Linked DNA regions of Homo sapiens: region 1 is linked to region 2. Evidence: promoter capture Hi-C in 16 types of primary human blood cells and fetal thymus (Javierre and others, 2016). All regions are on one chromosome and are shown on one strand. Each heading gives the region's core, a stretch centred on a gene start or on the middle of the fragment in contact. The rest is flanking DNA. Distances are from core to core; before and after follow the strand shown. Region 1 has its middle 6.9 kb from the start of LINC02687. Region 2 holds the start of TTC17 (tetratricopeptide repeat domain 17).

Region 1 (4,328 bases), core at 337-2,836, 2.0 Mb after region 2:
CACTACTCCAAATACTCATCTCACTCAATCCTCTCAATTACTCAGTCATCTGCTCAAATATCACCTCTTTAGGGAAGACTTTTCTTAATACTCTATCTAGAAAAGAGCCTTTTGTCACTCTATTCCTTAATCTGTCTTATTAATTTTTCCATAGCAGTGATCATGACCTGAATAATATTAGTTTCTATTTTATTTGTCTGTTGCCTGTCTCTTGCATTAGAATGTAAGTACCATGAGTGCAAGGACCTTGATTCTCTGCATTGCTCCCAGCTCCTAAAAGAGGGTGACACATAGTAGGTATTGATTGAATGAATGGATTAATAACAATTTACTGGTCCTGCTGAGAGGACCCATCTGTCAAAATTTTTCAGAACAGGCAGGAGAAACTGGAAACCTTGGTTTGATAACTGCCTGGCTGCCTCTTTTCCCAGAGCTGGCTCTAACGAAGAATAAACACACTTAACAGAGACGGTTGAAGGTCCTGGGATTACTTCCAATATGTTCCTTCCTGATGTCCACGGCAAATCTCAACTTGTTCATTTTTCTTTTTGTTTGCCTTTCTGAAAACAATGGAAGGAAAATTGAGGGAATCAATGTGCTACATTTCATATATGATGATAGGGACAAAGTGTAGTTTTGATTTTTTTTTTAAATGATCTAGAATACAAAGTTGGTTATTTCCTCCTAGTGCCTGGCACATAGTATGTGCATACTAAATGTCGAGTGAATTGGCAATGTCATCTATTTGATGTTATTAAGTTTTCATTGTGTGCTAATTGTTCTGTAGAAGGTATTGGATTAGAGGGTCCACACCCTTAAAGATACCAAAAAGCTGGAGGATTTTCTCCATCACTGCCCCCAACCCAGAAAACCCTTAGCCTAATCCATGCCTGTTCCTTGTCATATGTACCAGCCCATGATCCTAAAAATAGTCAGTAGAATCAATTCTATTTTTTTGTGTGGTTTAATTTAATCCATTATAAAAGTAATGCAGGTTAATTTTAGAAAGTTTTTAAATTACAGAAAAGTGAAAGAGAAGAAGAAAAAAATATGTGGTTCTACCACCCAGAGATAACCACTGTTAATATGCTGGTGTATTTATTTCCTTCCACTGTTTTCTATGTGTATTTTTACACAGATTGAACATACAATTGTATTTCTCTCTTAATATCATAACATAAGCATTTATTCTTGGAATTCAATACTGTGAATATCTCTTTTAATAGTTGCGTACTATTACATTTTCCTGTTTTAGACCATTTAGTTTGTTTTCTATTTTTTAAAATTATAAGTAATGCTGGATAAATATCCTCATATGTGTATCTTTGCTGGCATTCCTGTTTTTTTTTTGTTTTTGTTTTTTGTTTTTTGTTTTTTTTTTTTAGGATAGAGTTCCAGAAATGGTGTAACTAGTTCTAAAGGGGACAAACTCTTAATACATTTTATGAGATTTCATTTTGATTTCTAAAACCGTTCGAATGTGACTTCCATAAAAGAGCTCTAGGAAAGCAGATTGCCTCAAAGAATTTACTTCCAGTTTTGCAACATTTCAGGCATAGAGTGTTTTAGCATTCAGTTTAAATGAGTACAGAAATCTTCTGTAGGCTGCCTCCTCTTCAGGCCTCTTCTCTCTCTAATAAAATGCAGCATTGGCATTATAAAAATCTTTCTTTGATAAACAACGTCTTTTTGCGTTCTCAAGGATTGTTTTCCTAAGTCTTCCTGGCGGGTATTGGGTTTATGTGTTGTATTTTTGCTTGCCTGTTTATGATATCTTAAGGGTTTAGTTATGCTTTGTGTTTTGTTTTGTTTTTTCATTGCCAAAGGAAGTCCAGATTTCATGGCAGTGAAACCGGCTTTTACAAGTCTGTCTGGGTCTTTCCTGAAAGGCCAGGAGATTACCTTGGCAGGGACTGTTCTCAGGAATATTGCATGGAAAAGGACTCCCCTCTCCAAGGCTAAGCCATCGTGGAAACGGCCTTGCCAAAGATAAGCGGTTTATCAATGGAGGGAAACCATGCCATTCAGAGATATGAGAGACCAGGCATGCCATCTAGGAGGGTCAGGATATAGGATGGCTTAGTAAATGATGTCTCAGTCATACCACATAAAATCATGCATGCAACATAATTGAAAAGAATGGAACAGACATCCTTATCTTACCTGAAAAGACATCCATGATATTTTGTTAATTCTGAATAACAAGATGTAGAGAAATATGTATGGTGTGATCTCATATTTGTAAGAAAAAAATAAAAGCAAAAATCATGTTTAACCGTTTGGGAGGCCGAGGCGGGCAGATCACCTGAGGTCAGGAGTTCAAGACCAGCCTGGCCAACACGGTGAAACCCCGTCTGTACTAAAAATACAAAAATTAGCCAGGTGTGGTGGTGGGCACCTGTAATCCCAGCTACTCAGGAGGCTGGAGCAGGAGAATCACTTGAACCCAGGAGGCAGATGTTGCAGTGAGCCAAGATCACACCACTGCACATATCAGACTGTTGGTAACTCACTGGTATGTGAAATTGGGCTAGATGAGAATAAGGAACTTTGCTTTATACAACTCTGTTGAATAACCTGTTACAATGAACATGTATTACTTTTATAACTTAAAGGAGGAAAACTAAAAAAAAAAATACTGGAGACGGACAGAATAGGAAGTGGGATTTAGGAGCTAGTTAAATGGGACCTGTGCAGGGTGGATCATCAGCCTTTCTGGCAAGGCTGATGCATGTGCCAAAGAAGAAAAGTGGGGCTACCTAGAAAAGTGGGGCTGAGCTGGCATGTCCTTACCCTGGCAGCTGCTAGAAAAATTGAATATGTTGGCATTCAATGGAGATATCACATCTGTAAAGTCTTTTGGGGGAGAAAATGGGAATGATCCAGAGAGAGTCAAGAGTTGCCATCTGAGGGCTTGAGAGAGGGTGGCCAGGAGAGATCAGAAGAACATGCTTTAAAAGCCCCAGAATGGAAAAGATGGATTCTGCATCTGAATCACAGAGCTCTTCTTAGCCATCTGTGAGACATGCCCTAGGCCTTGAGCTAGAGACAGTGCCCAAGGCTTTTATTAACCTTCTTCCCTTGGGAGTGAATGCTGAGGTGTGTGTCTTCGAGGAGTGATGGCTCAGAGGCTACACAGCTCTCAAACTTGATTTGCTTTATATTTTATTTGTGAATTAGGGTGTATTCACGGCGAATGGATGATTTAGACGATGATGGGTCTGCTGCACATATAAAGGGATAATTGAATCTCGAAGTCTATTAAAGACTGTTGCCTTACATCTTGTGGGATGACATTTTATTACAGGGGCCAACTTGTCTCTTATATTCTGTTTCTTCTCTTCCCTTCCTCCCTTTCTTCATTATCCTTAAAAAATTAGATTTTCCCCTTCGCCAATCAGCAGTTGCAAAAAGTCCTCCAGGAAAAGTCTGGATGCCAGAAAGCCGTACCTGAGGGAGGCAGAATTGCATGGCAGTGGGCTACATGGGCTCCAGAGTTGGCCAATGTGTGGCCTCTAACAAGTATCTTGCCTCCTCTATGCCTCAGTTTCCTTCTCTGTAAAGTGTGGGTGATGATGTTTACTTTTTAGTTGTCATGAAGGTGAGGGATGATGATGCTTAGCACAGTGTCTGACACTTTACAGCAAGCGCCACGATCCACTGTTGTCATCGGGACTTTTGTCATCCTCAGTGCTGCCACACGTTTGCCCTGGGTCCTTGAGCAAATTGGCTCTTTTCTGTGGCCCCCTTGTTCCTCATCTGCCAACTGAACTCTCCGCAGTTAATAACTCCAGCGACACTCGAAAAAACAACAAAAGCAGTTGAACAGCAAAAACAACAATCCAAAAACCCACCCTGATTCCTGGGTAGGATAACGTCATTTCGCTCAGGACTGCTCTCAGTAAGTGGGCCTTTCCTGTCAGAAGAGCCTGGAACCTCTCTGTTCCTCAGAGCTGCCAACACTGGCCTTGTTCTGTGGTCTGATCTGCTGGCGACCTCTGTCCGCACACTTCTGAGACTGGCCAGGGGCCCTGGCACAGTCACACTGCACAGCCCGCCAAATCGAAAGGTCCTTTCTTTTGAGCAAATAGCATCATACACGTTGCCATCAAGAAAATGAAAGCATTTGCAGTGGCGCAGCATCCAGCTTCTCTCTGTGGCCTTTGGAAACAATTTTGTGACCAGAGAATGGTTGGAGACAAAGGTCTTTCTATCTGATCTGCTCACCAGGCTGGCATGGGATCGTGGGGGGCCTATGTCCCTCTTTCCTGGCACCACATGGATTGCTATCACTGCATTTGTCTCCTCTCTTTGATTAGGACAAGACA
Region 2 (4,586 bases), core at 1,885-4,384:
GGAGATGGGGCCTAGTGGAAGGTTTCTGGGTCATGGGGGTGGATCTGTCATGAACAGATTAATGCCCTCACGGTGGTGGGGGGGGAGGTGAGTTCTTGCTCTCTCAGGAATGAATTAGTTCTCGAGTGTGGGTTGTTAAAAGAGTTTGGCTTTCTTGATTTGTCTCTCTTGCTGCTTCTCTCAACATGTGATCTCTATGCACACCCACTCCCCTTCTGCTTTCCTCCCTAAGTGGAAGCAGCGTGAGGCCCTTACCAGATGCGGCTGCCCAATCTTGGACTTTTCAGCCACCAGAATCATAAGCCAATTAAACCTCTTTTCTTTATGAATTGCCCAGCTTTAGGTATTCTGTTATAACAACACAAAATGGACTAAGATAATGTTATATGGCAAACGAAATTTTTGCAGATGGCATTAAAGTTACTAATCAGTTGAATAAAAAGGGATATTATTCAGATAGACCTTATCAACTCACATGAGCCCTTTAAGTCTAGGCTTAGAGATAGAGGAATTCAAGAGATTTCAGCAGTGGAAATATTCTGCTTGCCTTCAAGGAATAACTGCCATTGTGAGAGCCACATGGCAGAAAACTGTGGGTAGCCTCAATGTTAATGGCCACAATCAGCAGCCAGTAAGAAAATGGAGCCCTCAGTCCTACATTGGCAATAAATTGAATTCTGCCAAGGACTTGAAGAATGAGCTTGACTGAGGAACCCCAAGCCTCAGATGAGATTGCAGCCTTGATATGAGCCTTGTGACACTGAGCAGAGAACTCAGTCACACCACAGCAGAAGACTTTTGCCCCAAGGAAACTGTCAGATAATGTGTTAAGCTAAGTTTGTGGCAATTGTTACACAGCATTAGAAAACTAATACAGGATCCCAAAAGATAAGAGTTATCATCTACAGAAAATAGGTGGTATAATAAAGCTATAGAAGCTATAATTCCACCCCTTTAGAGGTTAACTTGTGAAGGTCAAAGAAATTGCTGATAGCAAAATATGTGATGCTGGGGCCTTTCTCAAATTCCTCACTAACATTCATTCATTCTCAGGCTCTCAGATCTAGAGTCAGGTGGATCTGAGTCCAAACCTGAGCTCTACCACTTAGCAATATGATCTTGGCCAACTTACTTAACTAGCCAGAGCTTGGTAAGTTGTGACGATTAATAGGAACTATGCATGTACAGGACCCAGTACGTATTAAACACTCAAGAAATGTTAGATGATGATGATGTCAGCTTTATACACAAGAAATAGGGTTGACCTCTATGCCCCAAAAATAAGATGCTGAGACAAAAGGGATTCCATCATTTGCCACTTCTCTATTTTAAAATTCTGAAACACTCCCTATTGCCTATGTCTAAACTCCAAGAAACTCTTAAAACATGCCACTGACTTCACCTTTTCGTTTCTTGAGACGGATTCTCGCTCTGTCACTTAGGCTGGAGTGCAGTGGTGTGATCTCGGCTCACTGCAATCCCCGCCTCCCGTGTTCAAGCAATTCTCTGCCTCAGCCTCCCAAGTAGCTGGAATTACAGGTGCCCGCCACCATGCCCGGCTGATTTTTGTATTTTTAGTAGAGGCGGGGTTTCACCATCTTGGCCAGGCCAGTCTTGAACTCCTGACCTCAGTGATCCATCCACCTCGGCCTCCCAAAGTGCTGGGATTACAGGCGTGAGCCACCGCGCCCGGCCAACTTCACCTTTTCACTTATTATTCTGCCTGAACCAGCACCTGAGCTCCAAACCTTTTTTTCACCTGGTTGGTTGCTCTCTCCTGTACATATGCATTCATACACCCCCATTATCCTGTATTTTAATTGTTAACCTGCCAATAATATCTCACTATATTGCACACTGCCCAATGGTTACATTTCCATACCCAGAGACTATCAGAGTACCAGGCAAAAAGCAAATAAGCCATATATTTTTAATGAAATGAATGTTCAGTCTTCAGGCCTTTAAGAAAAGCTGTTCCTGGAATGAAGAAAAAAAAAACACCAATGCTGTGGTTGTTTCTACATTTCTATAGCGTGGTGTTTAAACACTTAGCAACTGCTCTCCTGCATACACTTGTGTAGAGAAGTGGTTAAACAATATTCTCATCCTTCTTTTCCCAAGGAGAAAACCAAAAGCATACCAACCTTAAATAACACACACAGAGGGCAATCTTGAAAGACCTAAAATGACATATCTAGCAAGAAGCTGGCAGCCAAGCTTGACGCCTGCCTGCCTGCCTGTTGGTTCACTAGAAGAAAGTGGTTCTCAAACTTTAATATGTATACCAGTCACCTGAGGCTATTGTTAAAATGTAGTCTGATTCAGCAGGTTGCGGGGGAGAGGGAGAAGAGCCGAGAATGTGCAGGTCTAAAAAGCTCCCAGGTGATGCCAATGTTTCTGGTCTCCAGACCTAGACCTCTAGCTTAGACCTGTGCTGACCAGTACGTTAGCCACATGCGGGTATTAAGCCCCTGAAATATGACTAGATAAGCTGTCAGTGTAACATGCCGATTTCCAAGACTTAGTTAAAAAAAAAAAAACTAAACTATCTCAATGATTTGTACAGACCACATTGAATTAATATTTTGTGTACTTTGAGTTAAATAAAATGTACTAGTAGGGTTACTTCCCTCTATATTTTACATTCCACACGTGGCTCGCATTATAGTGCTACTGGACAGCGGTGCCCTAAACTAACAACCGTCTCCATTCTGAAGCTTCCACTATTGTGAGACTTTAAGAATAAAAGCAACACCTCTCTTCCCATAGGTGGTTCGAAAGCACACCTTTTGTTCCCCAACTATCTACCAGAAATAAAACGAAAAAACAAAGATTTAAAAAACAATAAAATTGAGTCCTTTCACTTCTGCTTAAGCGCCACCTAAGCCACTGCTTTTGTCTCCCTCCGGTTCCCACGCTCCGAGATCGTATCACCCACAGAAAAACAATAACTAAAAAGCGGTCTCCATCCCTGAAGCCAAGCTGGGAGAGTAGCCGAAGGTCGCGCTTCCTGGCCGCCAAAACCGAGGTGGAGGAAACTTGGTAGTCAGCGAGCTACGCCCTCTCGGCTCCTCCTCCTGCTCCTCCTCCAGGGCCGACCTCTTCAAGATGGCGGGCGCCGGAGACTAGCTTCCGCTTCCGGTGTGAGCGGCCCGGCCGGGGGGGCAAGATGGCGGCGGCAGTAGGGGTTCGTGGCCGGTACGAGCTGCCGCCTTGCTCCGGCCCAGGCTGGCTCCTCAGCCTTTCCGCCTTGCTGAGTGTGGCGGCACGAGGGGCCTTCGCCACCACGCACTGGGTCGTCACGGAGGACGGGAAAATCCAGCAGCAGGTAGCGGCCGGGGCGTCCCTCTTCTCCCGTGCCCGCCCTCGCCCCGGGGGGATTACCCTGCTTGGCCCCTGGCTGTTGGGCTCCGCGCGGCCCCGCCCCCAGCCTACCCTCACAGGGAGGTGGCACCGCGACCTCGGACTCCCTGCATTCGGACCAGGCAGGCACTTCCCGCTCCCCACTTGTCTCCTGGTCCTCGTTTGGCCCCCTAGAAGTTCTCACCCTTCCACCTCGCGGGCCGCGCGCCGCGTGGGGAAGAGTCGCCCAGCTGCGGGAGACGGGCCCTACGGACCTTTTTTTAGCTCGGGGTTTAGAAATCACAGATTTCAGGATTCCTGCCTTTGGTGCCTCTCGGGTTCACGCGTCACCGGCCCTCCCCGAGGAAATAGAAAGCAGGTGGCAGCTCCAGGGTGTGCGCGAGTCCCATGGTATGACAGCTTCTGGACCCCTAGCCTGTGGACCATTCGTGCTGCTCCCCTAGTCTCGTCTACCACATGGTGGATTTCGTTTCTGGTTGTGTTGGTTTCAGCTTGTACCGTTACTCAGGTCAGCAGTGGCTCATTAGAAACAACATAGAAACACTCCCCTTCAGAAGGAATGCTTGAAGATGCCGCTGGTGGCGTTGCCTGCATCTTTTCAGCTGTTACTGCCCTCGTTTCCCAGTGCACTTTGCTTTGTTTCTTTACCTAGTTCTTGTGACCCAGCCTCGCATGGAGGATATGCGATTTCCTGGATTCTTGTATGCCTGAACTAATTCCTCAGAGGCGAGACTGCTTTTCTTATATAACTTTATGATTGCCTGCGTTTTGTAAATGCTGCTGATGCCTAACGAGTGCGTGTGTGTGTTCCGCTACAGAATATTGGTAAACTTACTGACTTCGAACACTTGAGGACAATCTTGAAGTGTCTAGCAAACATTTAGAAAGTGAATTGTGTGCCCCATGCAATTTAGCCCACTGATCTAAAACGTTTTAACTAGTGTGGTGGGAAATTACTGGTCCTTTGGATTGTGTGTAATGAATCATGATAGGAACACATTCCAACGTTTAAGGTGAGGTTTAGATTTAGATTTGCCGTGTAATGTAATTGCAAATTCTATCTCAAGTAAGTTAAGTATAACTAAAAATCCGCCTAGGTATTCATGAGTGGTTTTCAGCATATCTAAGAAAAGACCGTGTTCCTATTGGGTAACGTTTTCTATATGACATACATAAAGAACAGTTTCCTTTTCATTGCCATACTATCTGAGACTTTAAATATA

What was found. Contacts are between HindIII fragments. The CHiCAGO score rates a contact against its expected background, and 5 or more counts as called.
Region 1: a contact is called between a fragment that was not itself captured here and the fragment with the promoter of TTC17 in region 2, in 1 of 17 cell types (non-activated CD4 T cells). The highest score is 5.8, in non-activated CD4 T cells.

What each region holds. Positions count from the first base shown.
Region 1 is chr11:45,362,369-45,366,696 of GRCh38, forward strand. No RefSeq gene overlaps it. Among named protein-coding and RNA genes, the nearest start is that of LINC02687, 6.9 kb to the right of the region's middle. The HindIII fragment of the contact is 7,844 bases long and covers 1-4,328 here.
Region 2 is chr11:43,355,786-43,360,371 of GRCh38, forward strand. It overlaps TTC17 (tetratricopeptide repeat domain 17), which reads left to right and starts at 3,135. Exons shown (of 24, transcript NM_018259.6): 1 at 3,135-3,328. The coding sequence starts at 3,170. RefSeq lists an enhancer at 2,994-3,263 and a silencer at 3,394-3,473. The HindIII fragment of the contact is 2,829 bases long and covers 2,716-4,586 here.